4 separate regions of the Homo sapiens genome follow, and regions 2, 3 and 4 are each linked to region 1. Evidence: promoter capture Hi-C in human tissues and cell types (Jung and others, 2019). All regions are on one chromosome and are shown on one strand. The core of a region is centred on a gene start or on the middle of the fragment in contact, and the rest is flanking DNA. Distances in the headings are between cores, read along the strand shown.

Region 1 (2,770 bases), core at 29-2,528:
AGGTTGTGCTGCATTTCAGAGAGAGCCATCGGGAGCAGAAGCAACATGCGGAGAGGATGAGCAGGGACGGAGGCTCCACCATGACACTCTCAGTCCCAGCATCTCCTCAGCCCAGTCACCACACTGGAGAGGGAGGAGGCCCTTCAGACCCCGCAGGCCTCTGCACCCTGGGAGTTCCGCGTCTAACTCTCTTCCTGCAATCATCAGAGGCAGGAACTGGGCCCAGGTGGGGTAAAGGCAGGAAGACGTCTGCCTGCCCTGCTCCCTGGGCACTTCCCTGGATGCTGTATACCACAGGACAGAGATCGAGACTGTCTTTTGAAAAACATTTAGAGACAGGATCTCACCCTGTCACCCAGACTGGTCTCAAACTCATGGCCTCAAAGGATCCTCCCGCCGTGGGGTCCCAAAGATTATAGGCGTGAGCCACGGCGCCCAGCCCCAAACCGTCTTGATTCCCGACTTTGTAGGATGAAGGCCTGAGTGAAGAGGTGGGGAGGAGCTAAGCGGAGGAGCCCTACCCAGCCTGGACCACCCTGGGGCACGCACTCTGCGTCCACCTGACCTGGACGTGCCTCCTAAGGCTGGCAGCGAAGCCCAGGAGCAGAGCCCACGGATGGGCCCTGCAGGTGCTGGGCCTAGACCGACCGACAGACAGGCCTGGCCACTCAGGGCCACGCCGCCGCTGTGCCGCGCCTGCCCCCTCCCCGCCCGCCACCCCCGCCACTGGGGCAGGGACAGCGGGCCCAGCTCTGACCTCGGGTCTCGGGCACGCTCGACGTGGGCAGAGACACGGCCGCAGGGTCCTGGGGCTCGCTCGCTAGCCTCTGCCCGGCACACATGGACTTGAGCATCTGGAAGACGGCGAGGGGGGCCACGTTCAGCTTCAGCAGGTCCACCAGGATCCTGGCGGGGACAGACGCGGGGCCGGTGAGCCCTCTCCGCCCGGCGCGGCCACCTCCCTGAAGACCGGACAAGGACGGGGGCGGGGGCAGCGGGGGCTCCTCCCGACCAGCGGGCCGGGCGTACCCGGAGAGCAGAGGTCGGGGGTGTCTGGCGAGCATGCGGCCCCCACCCGCCCCGCTCACTTGAACACGTCGGGGTCGATACCGCCGCCCGCCGCCTGAGCCAGCTCGTACAGCTCCATCTCCTCGGTGCTCAGCACCTTCTTGCGCCGCAGCGCCAGCTTCTGCCGGGCCGCCTCCAGCCCCGGGGGCGCCGCCGACCCCGGCCCAGGCCCTACGCCCTGCGCCGCCATCCGCGAGGCCCGCCGAAAGGTGCGCCCCGCCCCGCCGCGCCCCCTAGCGGATGCGCCCACCGCCCTCTCCCTGCAGCGCCAGCGTCTGGCCTCCCGGGCTGCCCTGGCGGGAGCGGCGGGAGCGCGGGGACGGGGCCGCCTCCTCGGCGTCATTGGAGCCCAACAGTTAGTGGGCGCTCACGGTGTGCTGAGCGGCGCGCTAGGCGTCGGGAGTGGCATGGCGGACTGCAGGGGCCAGCTGCTTGGCGGTCAGGGCGTCCCTGATAGACTTGCATTGGTCGTGCTCGCTTAGGTGGCAGCACCCAGCCCAGTGCCAGGCATACATTGGGCGCTCAGTCAATACCTGTTTCAAGAAAGCGTGCAATTTTCTGGTCCGCACCGGTGCACCACTAGGGGTCGCTCTTCGGGGGGGGTGGGGGGCACTAATCAACAACCCTGCTTACGCGCACGCGCATTCCTTGCTAGGGAGAAAGTGCGTGAGCCCTACCTTGGGGCGCCAGAGGCCGCCACAACGCAGGCGCATTCAGCTAAGGACCACTCCCTCCCCCCGCACTCCTGCCTCGCCATTTCCCCTCCCTGGCCGGCCGGCCGGCCTTCTTCGCTTTGCGCACGTACCTTTTGAGGTAACGGCCCAAAGAGGTAGAAGCGCTTTTCCCGCCCGGCCGCGGGGCGTGGCTCTGCGCGCAGCTTGATGACGACGTTTTGGCGCGGTGGCGGAATGGCGGCTTCCACCTCTGAAGCGGGCGACGCTATGGGTCCCACAGGTGAGTGGCGCGGGACGCGCGCGTGAGACGGTCCGACGCCCTGGGGGCTTCCGCGAGCCCCTGCGGAGGCCATCTCCGTTCCTCCGCGAGCCCCAGGACTCGGGCGGCCCGGCGGCTCTGCCCAGGCCGGGCAGGCTGGGGAGTGGAGGGCCCCGGCTGAGTCTTCCTGCCACTCCTCTGGGCCATGCCTTTGTGCCACCTTCCCGCGCCGCTCGTACACTCTGTTCTGGTCCGGTAGGTGTTCGTTGAAGGTTACCCGTCGTTGAAGGAATTGAGGGAAGGAGAGCTTTGTGTTGAAATTGAGCCTTGGGCTCAACAGGCGGTGTGGGAGGAAGAGCCGGGTGTGGGTCCCAGCTCGACCCTTCCCCTGTGCGCTCCACATCTCCGAGCCTTGGTTTCGGAGGCTCCCGAAGCCCAATTCGCAGGAGAGTTGGAAACAAGTGGGCGCGTGCTGTTAAGGGAGGTCTTGGCATGACAGAATTTGCTTGGAATGATTAGCGTTGCCCAAGGGCTGTCGCTGTCAGAAAAACAAAACAAAACGAAACAAAAAAAACAAACGGGTCCGAAGCAGCTCCTGGAGAAAATAGGTGTTGGAGAGTCGCGACGAAGTGGACTCTAGGTGCATGGCACGCAGAGACCTGTGACGGGGGAGGGTGGCCATGGCAGGGTCAGAGAACAGGGGTGTGGGAGACACCTCTTGGGAGTTCTCGGGTTTGAATTTCCTCTCTTGGAAAGTTCCTAGAAATTC
Region 2 (2,887 bases), core at 137-2,636, 380 kb before region 1:
AAAAAAACAACCAAATAGTGCTTTAAACCTTAGAATAAAAAAAAATATATCAATCTCTTGTCCACCCCCTTTTTAAACTATAGACAACTATTTTCACCTTTTTTTGGCACTTTTTAAAATAGTATTTTGGCTGGGTGTGGTGGCTCACACCTGTAATTCCAGCACTTTGGGATGCCAAGGCAAGTGGATCATGAGGTCAGGAGATCGAGACCATCCTGGCTGACACGGTGAAACCCTGTCTCTACTAAAAATACAAAAAAATTACCTGGGTGTGGTGGCGGTTGCCTGTAGTCCCAGCTATTCGGGAGGCTGAGGCAGGAGAATGGCATGAACCTGGGAGGTGGAGGTTGCAGAGAGCTGAGATCGCGCCACTGCCCTCCAGCCTGGGTGACAGAGTGAGACTCCGTCTCAAAAAAAAAAAATAGTATTTTATCTTTGTGGATATGGTAAAATTGCTATTGATTTACATGTAATCTTTTGACTTTTGATCATAGAAGACTTTTGCTGCCTTGTAAAACTCTTCAATCCACCAGTGAGTCAAAAACTTGTAGGAAATTTGTCAGTTACTTTTTTTCCTCCCCTGTAGTACTCGGTCCTGCTCCAGTCTGGACTGTTTTTTTTTTTTTTTTTCCTCCCCAGTCCTTCTGCACAGCTGCCTTTCTGGGAATTTCCTCCCCTGCCAGTTGAAGACCGAATCCTACTCTGTCGCCCAGGCTGGAGTGCAGTGACATGATCATTCATGGCTTACTGTGCTTCTACCTTCTGGGCTCAAGCGATCTTCCTACCTCAGTCTCCCGAGTAGGTGGGACTACAGGCGTGCACCACTATGTGCAGCTAACTTCTTATTTTTTTGTTGAGAATGTCTCACTGTGTTGCTGGGTTGGTCTCAAACTCCTGGGCTGAAGCGATTCTCCCACCTTGGCTTCCCAAAGTGTTGGGATTATGCTCAAGAGCCACCATGCCTGGCCTTGATTAATGATTTGACTGGGTGTGGAATTCTGGCTTGGAAATAATTTTCCGTTAGCATTTTGAAGGTATTGCTCTAGATGTCCTGTGTCTTGCTGATTGTTGATCCTTTATATATGCTTTTTTCTTTGGGAAGTTTTTAGGTTCTCTTCTTTGTCCTTGATGTTATGAAATTTCAGTCATCCTACCTATGGAGAATCTTTTAAAATTCATCATGCTGGACAGTCATTGGATCTTTTGAATCTAGAAATGTGTTATCCTGTTGCAGGAAATGGTTTTATAGTATTATTTCTCTGCTCTTTTCTCTGTGGTTTATTTATGAAATTCTCCTATAAGCAGAATTTTTTTTTTTGAGACGGAGTCTCGCTGTGATGCCCAGGCTGGAATGCAGTGGTGGGATCTCAGCTCACTGCAACCTCCGTCTCCCGGGTTCAAGTGATTCTCCTGCCTCAGCCTGCTCAGTAGCTGGGACTACAAGTGCGTGCCACCATGCCTGGCTAATTTTTGTATTTTTAGTAGAGATGGGGTTTCACCATACTGGCCAGGCTCGTCTTGAACTCCTGACCCCAAGTGATCTACCCACCTCAGCCTCCCAAAGTGCTGTGATTAACAGGTATGAGCCACTGTGCCCAGCCAGCAGAATATTTTATATTCCAGGCTCATCCTCTAATTTTTTTCCATCTCTTGGTCTTTTTTTTTTTTTTTTTTAGCTCTTCATTTCAGAGAGATTTCTTCCATCTTGATCTTTCCAACTCTTGTATTGAATTTTTAATTTTGGTTATTATTTTTAATTGAGAGCTCTGAATATTTCTTTTTATTCTTGTTTTTTTTTTTTTTGAGATGGAGTCTCACTCCAGTCACCCAGGCTGGAGTGCAGTGGCACTATCTCGGCTCACTGCAAGCTCCGCCTCCCGGGTTCACGCCATTCTCCTGCCTCAGCCTCCTGAGTAGCTGGGACTACAGGAGCCTGCCACCACGCCCAACTAATTTTTGTATTTTTAGTAGAGACGGGGTTTCACCATGTTGGCCAGGCTGGTCTCGAACTCCTGACCTCAAGTGATCTACTCTCCTCGGCCTCCTAAAGTGTTGGGATTATAGGCGTGAGCCACTGTGGCCAGCTGTAAAGTAATATTTTTAAAGTTTTCTTTTGTACCCAGCATTGTCTCTGATTCTTGAGGTTTTTTTCTTGAAAATTTTATTTTCTTTAATCTCTATCTTTTATGGTCTAGATTTTTCTCCAGTGTCTGATTGTGGTACTGTGAAATGTTTATTTTGTCTTTGACCTCATTTCCTGCCTTACAACTCCTATTTAATACAATCCTTAAAAATCTCCAAAATGATGTCTTTTTGTATGCTAATGATTGATTGATGGCCTGCAGACTCCCTTCAGGATGGGAGCTGGTCATCTGAAACACCTATGCGACTTTAGAGGGTTGGAACTTTCATGTCTGCCCCCCAACCTTCCAGGAAGGAGAGAGGGGTTCAAGGTGATGTTGATCACCAGTGGCTGTTGGTTTAATCAATCATGCTAATGTAATGAGGCCTCCATAAAAACCCAAAAGGATTGGGTTTGGGGAGCCTCCAGAATAGCCGAACACCTGGAGGTTCCTGGAGGGAGGGTGGTGTGCCTGGAGAGGCCTGAACACTAACACCTTGCCCTATACATCTCTTCATCTGTGTCCTTTGTAATACCCTTTATAATAAACTGGTAAATATAAGTCATTGTTTACCTGAATTTTGTGAGCTGCTCTAGCAAATTAATCAAACACAGGGAGATGGGGGAATTCTAATAGACCTAAAGAAAGAAACTAAAGCAAAAATTACTATAAATAGAGAGTTTATTTAGGCCAGATTTGAGGACAGCAACCTGGGAAGCATAGATTCAAGTTGCTCTGAATATATGCTTTGAGTAGCAACAGTT
Region 3 (2,748 bases), core at 164-2,663, 360 kb before region 1:
ACGCAGCTTTTAAAAAAATTGAATTTTGAAATAATTATAGATTCACAAGAAGTTGCAAAGATAGCTTTGAGAGTCTCATGTGCTTTTTATGTGTTTTCCCCATTTGTTAATATTCGATCAAATTAAACCCAGGAATTTGGAATTGGTGTGGTATTTAAGAGTAATCCTGTGTCATTTTCTCATACGTGTAGATTGTGTAGCTACCACCTCAATCAAGATAAAGAATTCTTCACAAAATCTTCCTGCTGTGACACCCTTTAATAGTCATGCCATCCCTCTGCTTCCCTAAACCCTGTCAATCACTGAACTGTTCTCCAGCTCTATAGTTTTATCATTTCAACAATGTCATATAAATGAAATCATATAGCACGTGGTCTTGGGAGTTTAACGTTTTTCACTCAGTATTTGCCCTTGAGATCTGTCCAAGTTGCTCTTTGTCAATAATCCTTTTTATTGCTGAGTGGTTTTTTTTTTTTTTTTGGGATGGAGTCTTGCTCTATCGCCCAGGCTGGAGTGCAGTGGCTCGATCTCGGCTCACTAAAAGCTCCGCCTCCTGGGTTCTCGGCATTCTCCTGCCTCAGCCTCCCGAGTAGCTGGGACTACAGGCGCCCGCCACCACGCCCGGCTAATTTTTTGTATTTTTAGTAGAGACGGGGTTTCACTGTGTTAGCCAGGATGGTCTCAATCTCCTGACCTCATGATCCGCCCACCTCGGCCTCCCAAAGTGCTGGGATTACAGGTGTCAGCCACTGCACCCGGCCCTTTTGAGATGGAGTTTCGCTTTTGTTGCCTATACTGGAGTGCAGTGGCACGATCTCGGCTCACCACAACCTCCACCTCCCGGGTTCAAGCGGTTCTCCTGCCTCAGCTTCCCAAAGAGCTAGGATTACAGGCATGAGCTGATTTATTGGCTTTTCCTTTTCTCGGTTGTGCTTTTGCTGTCAGGTTAAAACTTAACATGACAAACCTAGCCCAAGTTTCCTAAGATTTTCTCCTACATTATTTTCTGAAAGTTTTATAGTGAGGTTTTATAATTATTCTGTATTAATTTTGAATTAATTTTTTATAAGATAGATGTCTTTTTCAGGGCTCTGTTGAGTGTATCTCTTTCTGAGGTCTGTGGTCTGCTCCATTGTTCTGTATTGTTACCTTCCTTTGATCCCACACAGTCTTAATTATTGCAGCTATTATAAAAAGTCTTGGAACTGGGTGGACTGATCAACACCCTCTTTGTTCCTTTTTGGAAATGTTTTAGCTATTCTGGTTCCATTAGCTTTCCATATACATTAGAATAAATTTGTTTATATCTACAATGAAATCTTGCAAGGCTTTTGCAGGAATTGCCTTAAACCTGTGTCATATTTATTTGGAGAGTAATGACATCTTTATTGAATGTTGAATCTTCCAGTTATAAACATGGACTGCATGTGTATTTAGATCCTCTTTGATTTTTTTCATCAGCATTTTGAGGTTTTCAGTATAAAAATCCCATACATGTTTTGTTAGATTTATAAGTGTTTCAGTTTTTTTAGTGATTGCATATGGTATTACATTTTTAGTTTTAGTTTCCTTTGTTTACTGCCAGTATAGAGAAATAGAATTGATTTTTGTAGGTTGATCTTGCAGCTTGTAAACTTTCTCTTTTTTTTTTGAGACAGAGTGTCTCTCTTATTGCCCAGGCTGGAGTGCAGTGGCGCGATCTTGGCTGACTGCACCCTCCGCCTCCTGGGTTCAAGCGATTCTCCTGCCTCAGCCTCCTGAGTAGCCGGGATTACAGGCACGTGCCACCACACTAATTTTTTGTATTTTTAGTAGAGATGGGGTTTCACCATGATGGCCAGGCTAGTTTCAAACTCCTGACCACAGGTGATCCACCTGCCTTGGCCTTCAAAGTGCTGGGATTACAGGCATGAGCCATGGTGCCTGGTCGGCGCCTGTAAACTTTCTAAGCTCACTTACTCTATTTCCTTTTTCTGTAGATTCTTTGGGATATACTACATAGGCAATCATGTCATCTACAAATAGGAATCTGTTTTCTTTGTAACCTTTATGCCTTCTGTTTCCTTACCTTGCCTTGTTGCCTTGGTTAGACCTTCAAATATTATGTAGAATAGCAGTAGTGAGAGAAGACATCCTTGCCTTGTTCCTGATTTTAGGGGGGATGTATTCAGTGTTTTTTTTTGAGATGGAGTCTCGCTCTGTCACCCAGGCTCTGGAGTGCAGTGGCGAGATCTCGGCTCACTGCAAGCTCCGCCTCCCGGGTTCACACCATTCTGCCTCAGCCTCTCTAGTAGTTGTGACTACAGGCACCTGCCACCATGCCCGGCTAATTTTTTTATTTTTTTTATTTTTAGTAGAGACGGGGTTTCACCATGTTAGCCAGGATGGTCTCGATCTCCTGACCTTGTGATCCACCCACCTTGGCCTACCAGAGTGCTAGGAATACAGGCGTGAGCCACCGCGCCCGGCCAGTGTATTCAGTTTTAAGTATGCATTCATTTATTATGAATGTACTGTTTAATTCAGTATTTAATTAGTACTGAATTCAGTATTTAGTTTTACATATGCATATATTTAGTATTTAATGCATTCATTAAGTATGCTGTTAGCTGGAGGTTTTTTATATTTATTCTTTATCAGGTTTAGAAATTCCCTTTTTCTAGTTTCCAGGAGTGTTTATCATGACTGGTTGTCAGTTGCTTGCCTGCCTGTCTTCCTGCCTCCTCCCTCCCTCCCTCCCTCCCTCTC
Region 4 (2,700 bases), core at 62-2,561, 410 kb before region 1:
ACAAAGTCTTAGTAAAGATCTCCCGCTTCTCAGAGCCCAAGCATATAAACTTCCTTATGGGGCCACTGGACGACTAGACTGTTTAGTCTATCTCTTTGCTGAGAGTATCACCCTCCAGAGGGACGAGAATGACTGATAAGAAGTCTCACTCTCATTCCCTGTCGCAAGGGTCCTAATACTCAATCTCTATCCCCATGTGGGTTGTTAAAACCCACAAATAGCACATGTGCCCAGGACAGGCACGACATTAGTTCAAAGGCCAAGTTAGCTGGGTTTAACATGGCCTTCACATTTGACCCCAGATATCTCTCTTACCTCCTGCAAGTTCAGTTATACATTTGTAAAATGTTTTATTTCACTTTCTGAGAGTCTTAGCAACAAAGTTTTGGGGTTATCTCTTCTACCATATTATCAAAACCCAAAATGAAACTGTATCATTATAAATAACTACTCCTTGTGCAAAGTCACCGAAGGGAACAACCATTTGCTATTTTTGACCAACCAGCTCCTATCCCCTCAATATCCATTTCGCTGCAACCCTCACTTGCAGTCCATATTTGACTAGCTGACTCCACTAAAGGGATGTGGATCAGGCCTAAGTCAATCAGCAGACTCCCCTTTGTGGCCCAGGGATGGATGCTGAGTTTAATCAGAACAAAGCCCAGGACTGGTTTGAATAGAGAACAAGCAGTCCCATCAGGCTTTCCTGTAGAGTGGAGGTAAAGAGGCTCTTAGTGAGGGACTACTGGGAGGGGCCTGAACTTCAGAGACCACAATGAGAAGGAGTGGGACCTGTGACCAACACTAAGTTAATACTGAGGAAGCGAAGCTGAGACCAGGAGGTAGAGAAACTAGATCCTGGTCCCAACTGCTGGAGCCACTAGATCAAGTTTTGACCAAATCCAGTCCTATCATTTGATTTTTCACTTCCAGGTATTTTCTTTCTTGTCTAAGCCACTTTGAGCTGCGTTTGTCAATAGAAAGCATTCTTAGTGACATGAAAATATACCAAGTATTCAAAGTTCAAAAATGAAAACAAAATTTTACTTACTTACCTGGATAACCAATTCCTTTGGCATTTGCATAGGGAACCCCAGAAGATCCAGGACTATAAACAGGATTCATGATTTCAAAAACTAAAAGAAAAAAAAGGGAATTTAGCCAAGCACTTTTGCTCTCAGATTTTTCTCCAGTACCAGTCCCCAAAAAGCAGGTAGCTAGAGTCCTTTCTCTAGGCTGCTATAAAACAATGCATTTCATGCTGCCCCCAACCAGCGAAGAACAGAAAAGGGACACTCGATGTCCTAATGGGTGCCAAACCAGGGCATGATAAACTTTTTTTCACAATTCTCCTCAGTCCATCAGAAGCTAAGGAGTAAAAATTGTTAGCTATATGTCCACTAAAAGCAAGGGGAAAGGCCAGGTACGGTGGTGCACTCCTGTAATCCCAGCACTTTGGGAGGCCGAGGTGGGCAGATCACCTGAGGTCAGGAGTTTGAGACCAGCCTGGCCAACATGGTGAAACCCCATCTCTACTAAAAATACAAAAATTGGCCAGGCATGGTGGCTCGTGCCTGTAATCTTAGCACTTCGGGAGGCTGAGGTGGAGGAATCATGAGGTCAGGAGACCAAGACCATCCTGGCCAACATGGTCAAACTCCGTCTCTACTAAAAATACAAAAATTAGCTGGGTGTGGTGGCGCGTGCCTGTAATCCCAGCTACTCAGAACGCTAAGGCAGGAGAATCGCTTGAACCAGGTAGTCGGAGGTTGCAGTGAGCCAATATTGCACCACTGCACTCCAGCCTGGCGACAGAGCGAGACTCCGTCTCAAAAAAACAAAACAAAACAAAACAAAAACAAACAAAAATTAGCCAAGTGTGGTGACGCACACCTGTAATCCCAGCTACTTGGGAGGCTGAGGCACAAGAATCACTTGAATCCAGGAGGTGGAGATTAGCAGTGAGCCAAGCTCATGCCATTGCACTCCAACCTGGACAACAGAGCGAGACTTTGTCGCAAAAAAAACATGGGGAAAACCCTACAAGTAACCAAAATGTTCTTCTAACAGAGGATAGTTAAGTTAACCAAGACATATCCAGAACATGAAATATCACGCAGCTGCTTTTCAAGAAATGTTTAAAAACAGAATAATACAATGTTAAGTGAAAACAAAGTAGAGTATTATACTGCATCCTGCATTACACAGTATGATCCCATATAAACACCTATGTGTATAAAAATGTGCATCCCTGGCACAAACAGAAAAAAAGTCTGAAAAGAAATATATAAAAATATGAACAGTGATTGACTCTAGATGGGAGTGGATTTAGTGGTCCTTTTGCAATTTCCTGTATTTATTTATTTATTTATTTATTTATTTATTTATTTATTTATTTTCCCAGACGGAGTCTCGCTCTGTCGCTAGGCTGGAGTGCAGTGGCATGATCTCAGCTCACTGCAACTTTGCCTCCCAGGTTTAAGTGATTCTCCTGCCTCAGCCTCCCGCATAGCAGGGACTACAGGCGTGCGCCACCACACCCAGCTAATTTTTGTATTTTTAGTAGAGACGGGGTTTCACCATGTTGGCCAGGATGGTCTCATCTCTTGACCTCGTGATCCGCCCACCTCAGCCTCTCAAAGTGCTGGGACTGTATTTCTCCCCTCCGCCCCCCCCACCCCACCCCAAGACAGGGTCTTG

The links. The method cuts DNA at HindIII sites, captures the fragments that hold promoters and counts their contacts. A contact is called where the count stands out against the background at its distance.
Region 2: a fragment that was not itself captured here is called in contact with the fragment with the promoter of MZT2A in region 1 in 1 of the 25 tissues and cell types used here (dorsolateral prefrontal cortex).
Region 3: a contact is called between a fragment that was not itself captured here and the fragment with the promoter of MZT2A in region 1, in 2 of the 25 tissues and cell types used here (heart left ventricle and thymus).
Region 4: a fragment that was not itself captured here is called in contact with the fragment with the promoter of MZT2A in region 1 in 1 of the 25 tissues and cell types used here (thymus).

The regions. Positions count from the first base shown.
Region 1 is chr2:131,491,119-131,493,888 of GRCh38, forward strand. MZT2A (mitotic spindle organizing protein 2A) reads right to left here and starts at 1,279. Exons shown (of 3, transcript NM_001085365.2): 1 at 1,089-1,279; 2 at 758-906. The coding sequence starts at 1,258. It overlaps MIR4784 (microRNA 4784), which reads right to left and starts at 118; the gene lies at 42-118. It also overlaps the pseudogene SMPD4BP. RefSeq lists enhancers at 610-1,403, 1,404-2,197 and silencers at 1,000-1,509, 2,030-2,219. The HindIII fragment of the contact is 8,382 bases long and covers 1-2,770 here.
Region 2 is chr2:131,109,705-131,112,591 of GRCh38, forward strand. The region is part of intron 1 of PLEKHB2 (pleckstrin homology domain containing B2); the gene reads left to right. Among named protein-coding and RNA genes, the nearest start is that of PLEKHB2, 5.8 kb to the left of the region's middle. The HindIII fragment of the contact is 3,750 bases long and covers 1-2,887 here.
Region 3 is chr2:131,133,438-131,136,185 of GRCh38, forward strand. The region is part of intron 6 of PLEKHB2 (pleckstrin homology domain containing B2); the gene reads left to right. Among named protein-coding and RNA genes, the nearest start is that of PLEKHB2, 29 kb to the left of the region's middle. The HindIII fragment of the contact is 8,401 bases long and covers 1-2,748 here.
Region 4 is chr2:131,081,522-131,084,221 of GRCh38, forward strand. FAM168B (family with sequence similarity 168 member B) reads right to left here. Exons shown (of 7, transcript NM_001009993.4): 2 at 1,056-1,136. The coding sequence starts at 1,125. Among named protein-coding and RNA genes, the nearest start is that of FAM168B, 11 kb to the right of the region's middle. The HindIII fragment of the contact is 4,151 bases long and covers 1-2,700 here.